Linked DNA regions of Homo sapiens: region 1 is linked to region 2. The links are contacts of gene promoters, found by promoter capture Hi-C in human tissues and cell types (Jung and others, 2019). All regions are on one chromosome and are shown on one strand. The core of a region is centred on a gene start or on the middle of the fragment in contact, and the rest is flanking DNA. Distances in the headings are between cores, read along the strand shown. Region 1 overlaps RABGAP1 (RAB GTPase activating protein 1). Region 2 holds the start of ZBTB26 (zinc finger and BTB domain containing 26).

The links. The method cuts DNA at HindIII sites, captures the fragments that hold promoters and counts their contacts. A contact is called where the count stands out against the background at its distance.
Region 1: a fragment that was not itself captured here is called in contact with the fragment with the promoter of ZBTB26 in region 2 in 1 of the 25 tissues and cell types used here (IMR-90 fibroblasts).

What each region holds. Positions count from the first base shown.
Region 1 is chr9:123,056,417-123,062,925 of GRCh38, reverse strand. The region is part of intron 13 of RABGAP1 (RAB GTPase activating protein 1); the gene reads right to left. It also overlaps the pseudogene LOC100422501. Among named protein-coding and RNA genes, the nearest start is that of GPR21, 26 kb to the right of the region's middle. The HindIII fragment of the contact is 5,392 bases long and covers 101-5,492 here.
Region 2 is chr9:122,926,623-122,932,897 of GRCh38, reverse strand. ZBTB26 (zinc finger and BTB domain containing 26) reads left to right here and starts at 1,386. Exons shown (of 2, transcript NM_020924.4): 1 at 1,386-1,461. It also overlaps a transcript of RABGAP1 not described here. RefSeq lists a silencer at 1,275-1,614. The HindIII fragment of the contact is 7,569 bases long and covers 1-3,944 here.

The sequences.
Region 1 (6,509 bases), core at 1,547-4,046, 130 kb before region 2:
TCCCAGCTACTTGGAAGGCTGAGGCATGAGAATCGCTTGAGCCAGTGAAGCAGAGGCTATAGTGAGCCAACATCGTGGCACTGCACTCCAGCCTGGGCGACACAGCGAGACCTGTCTCAATTAAAAAAAAGAGAGAGAGAGGAGACGAGATTTAGAAATTCAACTGTACACAGGACGTAAAAAATAACAAAAAACTGAAAGTACTCTCTATAACTGGGCCAGTTCTTGTCAATTTGCCATCCCATATCCATTAATCATGGAATTATCAGAGAATGAAGGGGCAAAATGCCCTTAAAAGAAGGTCATTTTGAAAATTCACACTCAATTTTTGATGCCTTCAAGAATGATAATAAATTGAGGAGTTCCATGTGAATCATTTGCTTAAAATATTTGGCCTTAAGGAAATATGCTGAAGAACTTGGAATAAATTCATTTGACTTGCTGGAGGCCACATCATGCAAAAGTGATGCAGAAATTCTAATAATGATGAGTTTAGTAAGTTCCTATCAGAATGACATTAAATTTGAAAAGGTTCTGAAAATAAAACACAGCAACATTATGGATGATCCCCTAAGAGAAAAAAAGCAAAGAGCTTTTCAAAATAGTCAAAGCAAGTGCTTACAAAATTAAGCTTTATACAACAATATATATTCCTTTTCTTTCTTGTTTCGCTCTTGTCGCCCAGGCTGGAGTACAATGGAGCAATCTTGGCTCACCGCAACCTCCGCCTCCCTGATTCAAGCGATTCTCCTGCCTCAGCCTCCCAAGTAGCTGGGATTACAGGCATGTGCCACCACGCCTGGCTAATTTTTGTATTTTTAGTAGAGACGGGTTTTCTCCACGTTGGTCAGGCTGGTTTTCAACTGACCTCAGGTGATGCGCACGCCTTGACCTCCCAAAGTGTTGGGATTACAGCTGTAAGCTACCACACCCGGCCATATTCCTTTTATTTCTAAGGAGTTAAACATAAATGTAACTGATGTAGAGAGCCTGCCAATGCAACACATGTAACACTATTCGTGGCCAAACTGATCAAGTCAACCAAATACATCCTCTTAAGGAGGCTGTAGTTAGTATAATGGCTTAACAGACAAGTTTTTATAAATGTACTTACGGCAACAGTGCACAGATGGTGACTTTAAAAGAACACGGAATGAATGGCAAAAGTATTGTCAGTTGTTACGTTCTGAAAATTACTGCTGTTATAAGAGAGGTGGGTTGTTTTGTTTTGTTTTGTTTTGTTTGATCAACTGGTTTTGTGTTTTGGCTAATTCATTTATCCCAAGAAAAACACCCTTAATTTCCAGAAGAAAACAAAAATGCAATAGGATTATGCACTATTGCCATCTTGCAAACTTCTTCTATAAAGGGTCAGGTAAAAATTTTTGGCTTTGCAAGCCATTCAGTGCTGCAGTTATTCAACTCTTCCCTTGTAGAGCAGCCATAGACAATATGTAAATAAACAAGCACTGCTGTGTCCTAACAAAACTTTATTTATAAAAGCAAGCGCATGCCAGGCGCAGTAGCTCATGCCTGTAATCCTAGCACTTTGGGAGGCCGAGGCGAGTAAACCACTTGAGCCCAGGAGATTGAGACCAGCCTGGGCAACATGGCAAAATCTCATCTCTACAAAAATACAAAAATTAGCCGGGCGTGCTGGCATACACCTGTCTTAGCTATTCGGGAGGCTGAAGCAAGAGGATCCCTTGAGCCCAGGAGGTAGAGGTTGCAGTGAGCCAAGACTGTGCCACTGTGCTCCAGCCTGGGCAGTAAGAGAGAGAGCCTGTCTTATACAACAATAACAACAACAACAAAAATGAATAAACAAAAGTGAGAGGCAAACTGAACCTGGCCCTGAGGTGGTAGTTTGTTAACCCTTGTTATAAGTATACTACAACACAGTAATTTGTTATGGTCAGCATGACCAGAGAGAAGATTTTTGTTATGATTTTAAATATACTAACATGTTATTAATTTTATACATGCTTTGCCCTCAGAAACTTTGTCACAACCTGCTACAACTTGAAATGTATATCTCTTTGAACACTTTTGTACTTTTTTCACATAATAACAAATGTTAAAAATGTTTGCTGCATTTTGCAAAAGTCTGTATATTCCTGTCTATGCAGTGTAGTACACGTTTCAATAAAACCCTGTAATTGTAGTGGTATATAGTCCCTGACATTTCAAGCAGCAAAATAAACAGTATATACAGCTCACAAATTATAAACACAAACTGACACACATGAGACTGGCTAAAATAAAAATACCAAATGTTGGTGAGAATATGAAATTACTGGAACTCTCAATGGTTGCTAATGGGTGTGTAAATGATATAACCACTTTGGTAAAGAACATGGCAGTTTCCCAGAAAGTTAAATATATACCTAACTACCATGACCCAGCAATTCCATTCCTAATACCCTCATGTGTAATAGCCCAACTAGAAACCTCAAATGTCCATCTACAGAAAAAGTGATAAATTATGGTATATCCATCTAATGGAATACTACCCAGCAATACAAATGAACCTCTAATACATGAAACAACACAAATAAATCTCAAAAACATTATGTTGAGCAAAAGCCCATGGTGACAGAAACCGAAATGGTTACCTGGGGGTGGGAGGGAAATCAACTGAAAAGGGGCATAAGGGAACTTTCTGAGATGACAGAAATGTTTATATTTTCTTTGGTGTTTACACAAATATAAGAAATTGTCAAAACTCATCAAAATGAACACATAAGGTGTATGTTTATTGTATGTAAATTATACTACACTCACAAAAACTGTAATCTCACATTCCCCACCTCCCTCCACCAACATTTCTCAACAGTTCTCTATTCTTGTGAATGGCAGCAGGTTTTACCACCTTGTTTCTGATTCTAGCTACCATGAATCATCACTGATCTGGAGATCTTTCTGCAGAGTCTGGATTCTGTCTCTTCCTTTCCACTTCTAGTGCATCACCCAAAGGCAGACCCATGCTTCATCTTACCAAGACTAATATAACAGCCTAAATGATTGTCTTAGTCGCTTTGGGCTACTCTAACAAAATATTACAAACTGGGTGGCTTATAAACAACAGGAATTGTTTTTACAGTCTGGGAGGCTGGAAATTCCAAGATCAAGATGCTGGAAAATTCAGTGTTTGGTGAAGGGTCGCTTTGCAGCTCATAGGTGGCATGTGCTTGCTGTGTTCTCATATGGGGCAGGGCAGCTCTCTAGGTCTCTTCTTTATAAGAGCACAAATCCCATGCATAAGGACTTTGCCCTCATGACCTAATCACCTCCCAAAGGCCCCATCTCCTAACAGCATCACATTAGTGATTAGTTTTTTTTGTTTTTGTTTTTTAATTTTTATTTATTTTGAGACGGAGTATCGCTCTGTCACCCAGGCTGGAGTGCAGTGGCGCAATCTCGCCTCACCGCAACCTCCGCCTCCCGGGTTCACGCCATTCTCCTGCCTCAGCCTCCTGAGTAGCTGGGACTACAGGTGCCCGCCACCACGCCTGGCTAATTTTTTTAATTATTTAGTAGAGACGGGGTTTCACTGTGTTAGTCAGGATGGTCTCGATCTCCTGACCTCGTGATCCGCCCGCCTCGGCCTCCCAAAGTGCTGGGATTACAGGTGTGAGCCACCTTGCCTAGCCATGGTTAGGTTTTAACATATGAATTTTGGGGGGACATAAACATTCAGACCATAACACTGATCTTCCTTTATCTCTTTACTTCTACTGGCACAACCGTGTCTGATTAATTTTTCTGAAATGCATGGACCAATCAGATCATTTTGCTGGTCATAAACTTTTATGAGTCATTATTACTATGTATACAGGAGGAGGTCCATGCCTTCTCCTTCATACTGACCACTTCACAAGTAGACTGAACACTAATCTGATTTCAGAATACCACTTGAACCATGTAGTAAGTAGGGTCACTGCTGACAAAGGCACCCAGGACATTTTGTTCTCTCTCAAATGCATGCTGCAATATCCTGAGTATCTGGGGCATGCTGGGGGAAGACTGGAGCATTACAAAGAGAAAGGCCTTTAAACCCAGACATATATTCAAGTCCAATGTGCTGCTGGTGGCTCCCAGTTAACAAATTAAACCTTGTTTTCCACTTGTCACTCTTCCTTGTGTTTATATTTCTTTGAAAACTTCAAGAGAAAAAGGGGTGACTGGCATGGCACAATTTGGGCATTGTTGGAAGTAATTCTATTTAAAACTATACTGTAAAATATCAGCACTTCTTAAATTTATTCACTAAACAAATACTGAGAATTAACGCCTCATGCTAAAATCCAAATCTCTTTCCCAAACATAACCTAAAATCAATGATATACCTTACTGCATTTTAAAAGGAAAAAAAAAAAATCTAACTTTTGGCTTTCTTAGTATAATAAAACCTTTTTGTTTTCTTATTTTAATAAAATTGTTTTGCTTTTTTGTAACAATAATACTGGAAGGAAAAAGAAGAATTTTACCATTCAGATAATAACTATGGCTAATATTTGGTTCGCATATGCCAAACTTTTTAGGTTATAACCATTTATTTTTATAAAATGAGTGTAGATTTTAGAAAAATTTTTTTTTGCTAACTACAAAATATTGTATCTTTTCATATTATTTGGCCATTATCCTACCTTAGTATTTTTAATGCACAGTAACCTGTCACACTATTATACCATAATTTACTCTGCCAAAATCTCCAGCTTTGGGATATGCAGCTATTCTACCCCTTTTGCTATAAACAAGGTTGTAAAGTAGAACAGTGATTCTTAAGGGAGAAAAGACAGTTTCCACAATCACTCAATTTCCCTAAAGAAACAGCATTCTCCCTCTCCCTCCTCCCCCTCTCCCCCTCTCCCCTCTCTTTCCACGGTCTCCCTCTGATGCCGAGCCGAGGCTGGACTGTGCTGCTGCCGTCTCGGCTCACTGCAGCCTCCCTGCCTGATTCTCCTGCCTCGGCCTGCCCAGTGCCTGTGATTGCAGGCGCGCGCCGCCACGCCTGACTGGTTTTCGTATTTTTTTGGTGGAGACGGGGTTTTGCTGTGTTGGCGGGGCTGGTCTCCAGCTCCTGGCCGCGAGTGATCCGCCACCCTCAGCCTCCCGAGGTGCTGGGATTGCAGACGGAGTCTCGTTCACTCAGTGCTCAATGGTGCCCAGGCTGGAGTGCAGTGGCGTGATCTCGGCTCGCTACAACCTCCACCTACCAGCTGCCTGCCTTGGCCCCCCAAAGTGCCGAGATTGCAGCCTCTGCCCGGCCACCACCCTGTCTGGGAAGTGAGGAGCGTCTCTGCCTGGCCGCCCATCGTCTGGGATGTGAGGAGCCCCTCTGCCTGGCTGCCCAGTCTGGAAAGTGAGGAGCGTCTCTGCCCGGCCGCCATCCCACCTAGGAAGTGAGGAGCGCCTCTTCCCGACCGCCATCCCATCTAGGAAGTGAGGAGCATCTCTGCCCGGCCGCCCATCGTCTGAGATGTGGGGAGCGCCTCTGCCCTGCCGCCCCGTCTGGGATGTGAGGAGCACCTCTGCCCGGCCGCAACCCCGTCTGGGAGGTGAGGAGCGTCTCTGCCCGGCCGCCCCGTCTGAGAAGTGAGGAGACCCTCCGCCCGGCAACCGCCCCATCTGAGAAGTGAGGAGCCCCTCCGCCCAGCAGCCGCCCCATCTGAGAAGTGAGGAGCCCCTCCGCCCGGCAGCCACCCCGTCTGGGAAGTGAGGAGCGTCTCCGCCCGGCAGCCACCCTGTCCGGGAGGGAGGTGGGGGTCAGCCCCCGCCAGGCCAGCCGCCCCGTCCGGGAGGGAGGTGGGGGGGTCAGCCCCCCGCCCGGCCAGCCGCCCCGTCCGGGAGGTGAGGGGCGCCTCTGCCCGGCCGCCCCTACTGGGAAGTGAGGAGCCCCTCTGCCCGGCCACCACCGCATCTGGGAGGTGTACCCAATAGCTCATTGAGAACGGGCCATGATGACAATGGCGGTTTTGTGGAATAGAAAAGGGGGAAAGGTGGGGAAAAGATTGAGAAATCGGATGGTTGCTGTGTCTGTGTAGAAAGTAGACATGGGAGACTTTTCATTTTGTTCTGTACTAAGAAAAATTCTTCTGCCTTGGGATCCTGTTGATCTGTGACCTTACCCCCAACCCTGTGCTCTCTGAAACGCGCTGTGTCCACTCAGGGTTAAATGGATTAAGGGCGGTGCAAGATGTGCTTTGTTAAACAGATGCTTGAAGGCAGCATGCTCGTTAAGAGTCATCACCACTCCCTAATCTCAAGTACCCAGGGACACAAACACTGCGGAAGGCCGCAGGGTCCTCTGCCTAGGAAAACCAGAGACCTTTGTTCACTTGTTTGTCTGCTGACCTTCCCTCCACTATTGTCCCATGACCCTGCCAAATCCCACTCTGCAAGAAACACCCAAGAATGATCAATTAAAAAAAAAAAAAAAAAGAAAAAAGAAACAGCATAATCCTTGTTTTTGGATTTTGAGTGGCCCTGCCAATTTGTCCTCCAGA
Region 2 (6,275 bases), core at 137-2,636:
TGGAAAAGTCACAAATATCTGAAAGTTAAACAACACTCTTAACAACTGGGTCAAAGAAGAAATCAAGGTCAGGCACGGTGGCTCACACCTGTAATCCCAGCACTTTGGGAGGCCAAGGCGGGTGGATCACCTGAGGTCGGGAGTTCGACACCAGCCTGACCAACACGGAGAAACCACGTCTCCATATCTCTAAATATCAAATTAGCCCGGTGTGGTGGCGCATGCCTGTAATCCCAGCTACTTTAGAGACGGAGGCAGGAGAACCGCTTGAACCCAGGAGGCGGAGGTTGCGGTGAGCCGAGATCACACCATTGCACTCCAGCCTGGGCAACAAGAGCGAAACTCCATCTCAAAAAAAAGAAAAAAAAAGAAGAAGAAATCAAAAGGGAAATTAGAAAATACTTAGAAATGAATGAAAATAACACAACATACAAAAACTTATGAGCTGTAGTGAAAACAGTGATCAAAGTGAAATGTATAGTTGTAAATAACTACATTAAAAAGAGGGAAAGGCTGGGAGCAGTGGCTCACACATGTAATCCCAGCACTTTGGGAGGCTGAGGAGGGTGGATCACTTTAACTCCAGAGTTCAAGACCATCAAGTTTTACACTTACAAATGATTAAAGTAATAAACATTACGCATGTTTTACCTCAATAAAAAGCCCCTCACCACCACCAAAAACGAAAAGAATGGTCAAAAACCAGTAAACTGGATTGGCAAGGAAAAGAACTCTAGAAGGATCCTCAAGTTTTCCGGTCTGGATAGGAGATGAGATGAACTTGAGATCATTAAAAGGTACTTTCACATCAGGACAGCTGGAGATCTCGTCCATGTAGCTGCCTGGGTTGTGAATGGTCAGCATGAAGTAGGTAACGGAAGCCATGGGAGTGCAAGAGTTTGCCCTAGGAAGAACTCCAAGGCAAGAACCCTGAAAAACACATCCAAAAGTGAGGGGAGAGCTTTCTGCTCTTCGGGCTCCCGCGCGACGAGTCTACACCCCTAGGCTAAAAAGACTTACCAAAGTTTAAGTGCAGAGGAGCCCTTCAGGCCCAAGGAGGCAGCGGACCGTCTAGGCCCAGCTACAGAAGAGCCGCTGAGACGGGGGTCCCGAGCAGCGGGTCCCTGCGAGGCGCACAGGGCCTGAGCCACAGACGCTTACGAGCTAAGGCACCTCGGGGTAGTAGGCAGTGAAGCTAGTGCCCAGAGTACGGTGCCCTCCGTCTGCGCCCCGCCCACAACGCAGAAATTCCCTCTCGGGGCCCCTGTTGTCCTCCGAGCCTTCCGATTGGCGGAGAGGACCATGGGACCTGGAAGTTGTCTTTGTCCGGCCAGGGCTGCCCTTCCGGTTCCGTTGGGTCCCCCTTTGGCTCGGGTTCCTTGCCCCTCCCCCTTCCCGGAGCCCCGAGGGGCCGGAGCTCCTGGCGGTGCCGGATCCTGACGGCGGCCTTCCCCCGGGTCTGTAAGTGCGGAGACGGCCGGAGCGGCGGGCTGGGGTGCGGGGTGTCTCAAAATGGAACCCCCCTGGGGCCCTGGATCAACCGGGACCTGCACTGGGATGGGAGCCGAGAGGCTGGCCTAGGCCCCTGGGGACTTGAGGAGCCCTTGGCCCGGCCCACGCTGCGCCCCGCCCCTTTCCCTTCCCTGTGACTGGAGTGGGGAGCCTGAGGATGCCCCTGGGACCGCCTCATAGGACCCCAGCTGAGGGCCCAGCAGTTGGCTTGGGGGCCTGACTCTGGCATCTTATAAGAAGTGCCAGAGGTGAGGCCCTAAGAAAACGAGCCTCGGGAGCCAGCCCAAGACCAGGCATTCAGTGCCAGTCTTTGAGAACCACTGTGAGTGCTAGGTTACCCTTTTGCTGGGGTTTTCCCCTATTTGGCCACTGGTCGCAGCACCTTTTATATTACTGGCGCTATACCAGACACTGGAGATTGGCAAGATATTGTTCCAGTTTTCGGGATTAAGTTTGGGAGCCAGATCTGAACAAATAAGTACTCCTATGTGTATATATATGTATGTATGTATCAGTCACATATGTGTTAATTGCTCAAGGGGCCGTTGCTGAGAAGGCTTTAGAAAGAAAGTGATGTCTGAATTGTACTTGGAGAGAGTAAAGTGTTGAAGAGTTTTTCAGGGAAGACAGTTGCAATACTGTGGAGAAATGACTGAGCATAACTTGTGTGGGAAGAGGAGGAAATGGGGGGACTCCTATGCACAGAATGGATATGAGACTGGGAAAGTCGACCGAGGTCCAGATGGTGAATGGTGTAATCCTAAAGGAGATGGGTAGTTTTTTGAAGAGTTCGGAACAGAATATTGATATGGTCAGATTTGCACTGCAGGAAATCATTTTGTTCTGTAGAAAGCCCATAGAGAAGGGACTTTCTATTAACTGCATTTAGACATTTAGCTAAAAGTTAGGAACGCTTATCGGAGATTCTTTTGAAGGGGTAATGGGATCAGCCTAGTGAGAGGCAAAAAATTCCTGAAATAAGTTATAATGGTGTCATTGGTAAGGAGACAAATATACTGGAGATGATTATGTCAAGACTCCATAATTAACTGAATGCTGAAGAAGTGTGAGGGACCAAATCTAATTCTTAGGTTTTAGACCTCTGAGCTGAAGGATGGTAATGCCATTATCAGAAATAAAGCCATAAGCTTAGTGTAGATTATGAATTCATTTTTTGGACATGTTGAATTAAAGGTCTAATGAGACAGACACATAGAGCTGTCCAGCATGGAGTTGGAAATGCAAATCTTTAGCTCAGCCTAAACATTGTAGCTAGAGGTAAAAGTTTGAGTTATCAGCATAGAAGTGGAAACCATGGCAATAGCTGGCATCAGGAAGAGAATTTTGAAAAATAAGGAAATTTGGGGGGGGAGGGTAATGCTTGCATTTATGAAGCAGAAAGAGGAATTGGAGCTAGTAGTAGTCAGCAGTAGGCAATAAAGTGTAGGAGTGCAGGGTTACAGCAAGCAAGAAGACCCAGAAATCAAGAGAAGGGAATTTCGAGGAGAGACCACTGGATCAATTCATGCAGAGCATCTGGAGACTTGGGGGAGGGGAGAGTATTGCATTTCTTTATGAAGAGGTCATTAGTGACCTTTTAAAAAGCAATTTAGTACAGTGATGAGGTGATACTCTATGAAATATTAGGTACCTCAGCTGGTTTGGTGTTAAATGGGAATAAGGATAGGACACATTTAAAGCATTTCACAAAGAAAATTGACAGGCTTTATTTGTATACCTAACACATGCTTATAGGGTACATACCAGACACTGTTCTAAGCTCTTTAAAAAATTAAATCATTTATTTTCCATAACAACCCTATGAAATAAATTACTATTGATAGATGGGAATATTGAAGCAGAGTGGTTTGAGTTTACACAGAAAGTAGTTGAGCAGGGTTTTGATCCTAGGAAATACGGCTCCAGAGTCCATGGTTTTACCCACTGCTCTATGCAGTGACTGAATATAGGAGCCAAAGGAGTGGGAAACATTTAAGCAAAGAGAGGCTCATTGATAAGAATGGAGAGGCTTGGAAAGAGACCCAGGTTGAGAAGAAGGTAAGTAAAGGATTTATGTTTGATATGTTTTTTATTTCTTTCTTCCTAAGTCCGTTTCCACTCTCTGCCCATTTAGGTTAATTTCTTCCACTTTCATGCTTTCATTTATCACTTACCATCTGTAATCAGATCTTTTCTTCATATCCATCCAGCTCATGAATCCTCACCTTGATGTCATGCAGGCTTCTCTGGCTCAAGACCAGACTCATGATCATGCCCTCCAATATTCCCTGCTTTGCTGAATGACATTCATCAAAGATATCCAGTTACAGAAACCAAATATCTTGGAGTCATCTTGACCCTTTCCCCACATTGGTCACCAAGCCCATCAGTTCTTTGTTGGAAATGTCTCTCAAATCTGTTTCCCCTCTCCATCCATATTATTGTTGTCTCTCTTCAGGCCCATGCCATTCTGTCTTGATCTGTTTAGAGTAATCACATACTAAAATGCTTCCTTGTACTTTTCTCCAAGCCATTCTCCATAAGAAATTTTTTTGGCTTATTGAAGTTTAGACAGTGCATGAGTGCAGGCATCATGCATTTCAAGTGATAGGGAAATAGCCTAGAACAGGTATTTTTGAGTACCTTGAATTGAGATTTAGTTTGGTTAAGTTTGGCCATGGGGATTGGGATTTAGGGATTGTTAACATAGGGAGGTAATAAAACATTGAGAAACAGAAGACAGGCTTTTTGAAAAAAATAGCAAAAAATTGGAGACTTAGCTTTGAAAGAGATACTTACCCTTATACAATTTAGTGAAGCCTCAAAGAACAGACCAGCAAAACAATGGTGGAAAACAGTTCAATAGTTAAGTAATTTGCCCACTTCCACATAACAGTTCAAAAAAAAGAACTAGGCCGGGCGTGGTGTCTCACGCCTGTAATCCCAGCACTTTGGGAGGTGGGAGGCTGAGGCATGAGAATCACTTGAACCTGGGAGGCTGAGGTTGCGGTGAGCCGAGATCACACCACTGCACTCCAGCCTGGGCAACAGAGCGAGACTTGGTCTCAAAAAATGAAAAAAAATCAAAAGAAGAATTAAATCTATATTCATCAACATAAATTGCTTTCAAAAACAATGAGTGAAAAAAGTAAGTTGCAAAACAATATGTATAGTTTATGTATAAGAAACTTAATTACGTTATACTTTTGTGGCTAGACATATAGAAGTATTGTTTTTAAAATGCCAGGAGGGGCCGGGCACAGCGGTTCATGCCTATAATCCCAGCACATTGGGAGGCCGAGGCGGATGGATCACTTGAGGTCAGGAGTTCAAGAACAGCCTGGCCAACATGGTGAAACCCCATCTCTACTAAAAATGCAAAAATTATCCGGGCTTGGTGGTGCATGCCTGTAATCCTAGCTACTCAGGAGGCTGAGGCAGGAGAATTGCTTGAACTCGGAGGTGGAGGTTGCAGTGAGCCAAGATTGCACCACTGCACTCAAGCCTGGGCAACAGAGCAAGACTCCGTTTCAAAAAATAATAAATAAATATATAAATAAATAAACAAAATGCAAGGAGGGAGAGTCAGGAAGGATCAAACTTAAACTGAATACTGAGTGGTAGGCAGTTGAGAAGGGGAATTACATCTAAAATCTTCAAAAATTTTTCAAGAAGAATACATTCTGTATATATTACTTAAAAGTTGAAACAAAAGCTTGATAACTTGGAGAGTATCGTGTCATGAAAGTTACCTAAAAGAAGAACAAGATTAAGGTTTATAGAGAGAAAGGCTGTAGTATAATACAGCCTCTTTAGAAAAAGAACATACCATGTCAATGAGGGACAAAGATTTCCAAGTAGTTTTGAGTGGTAAGTTGAAAGATAAGGGCACTTTTATGAGACAGGTGAGGAAGCAAACTGATACCTAGCTTAAGAATTTATTATACAGATAGAAAAATTTTACTTGCCAGTAGTTATTAGAAGCATTTGAGAAAAGAAACTATTTTCTCACTGCCTGTAGTATAGCAATTTACATTGTCCCACCTGGAATATTCAGTAATTAGTCATTTTTTACTATCCTCATTTGAACAAAGGGAAAATTTCAAATTAGTTATAATTGTGGAAGGATTGTATAAATATAAATGAAGAGGAAGTGAGAATATTCCCATTACATTGATGTTTGAGAAATATCATTCAAAACTTGCTAATAGAAACTCAACAGTATTCAGATTTAATCTCAGTAACTGAGGCAATAGATAATAAAGACCTGAACTATGGCAATGATGTAAGAATGGAGGAGTGAGGAGTTGGTGATCATTCTGAGGAAAGAATCAACAAAATATGATGACTGTGTCTCTGATCTACCTGATCAGTTCTTTACTTTCCTTCAGTTACAAGAAGCTTGACTATAACCTAGAATTATCTGAGTGATTTTTATGATTATTTTGAGTAATTACTGCTATACTTAGAAGTTACCTACAGTTGGGGATTGTGAAATCAAATATATTCATAATTTTTATTGTCTGCTTTATTTGCAAATGGCATTAAGTTTCAGTCCACAAAGATAAATACACAAAAGATGGAAAATAATATAAAGTAAAATAGATGAGAAAGGTATAATAAGGATAAAGGCATAATATGCAATCAGGAATATGACTAATACATATATGCTTGCCATTTAAGTCTTCTAATTTCATGCAAATTTGGCTTGAAGTTATAACTTGTTTTTAAACATAAACCTTTTTTTGAAGCATAACAAAAAC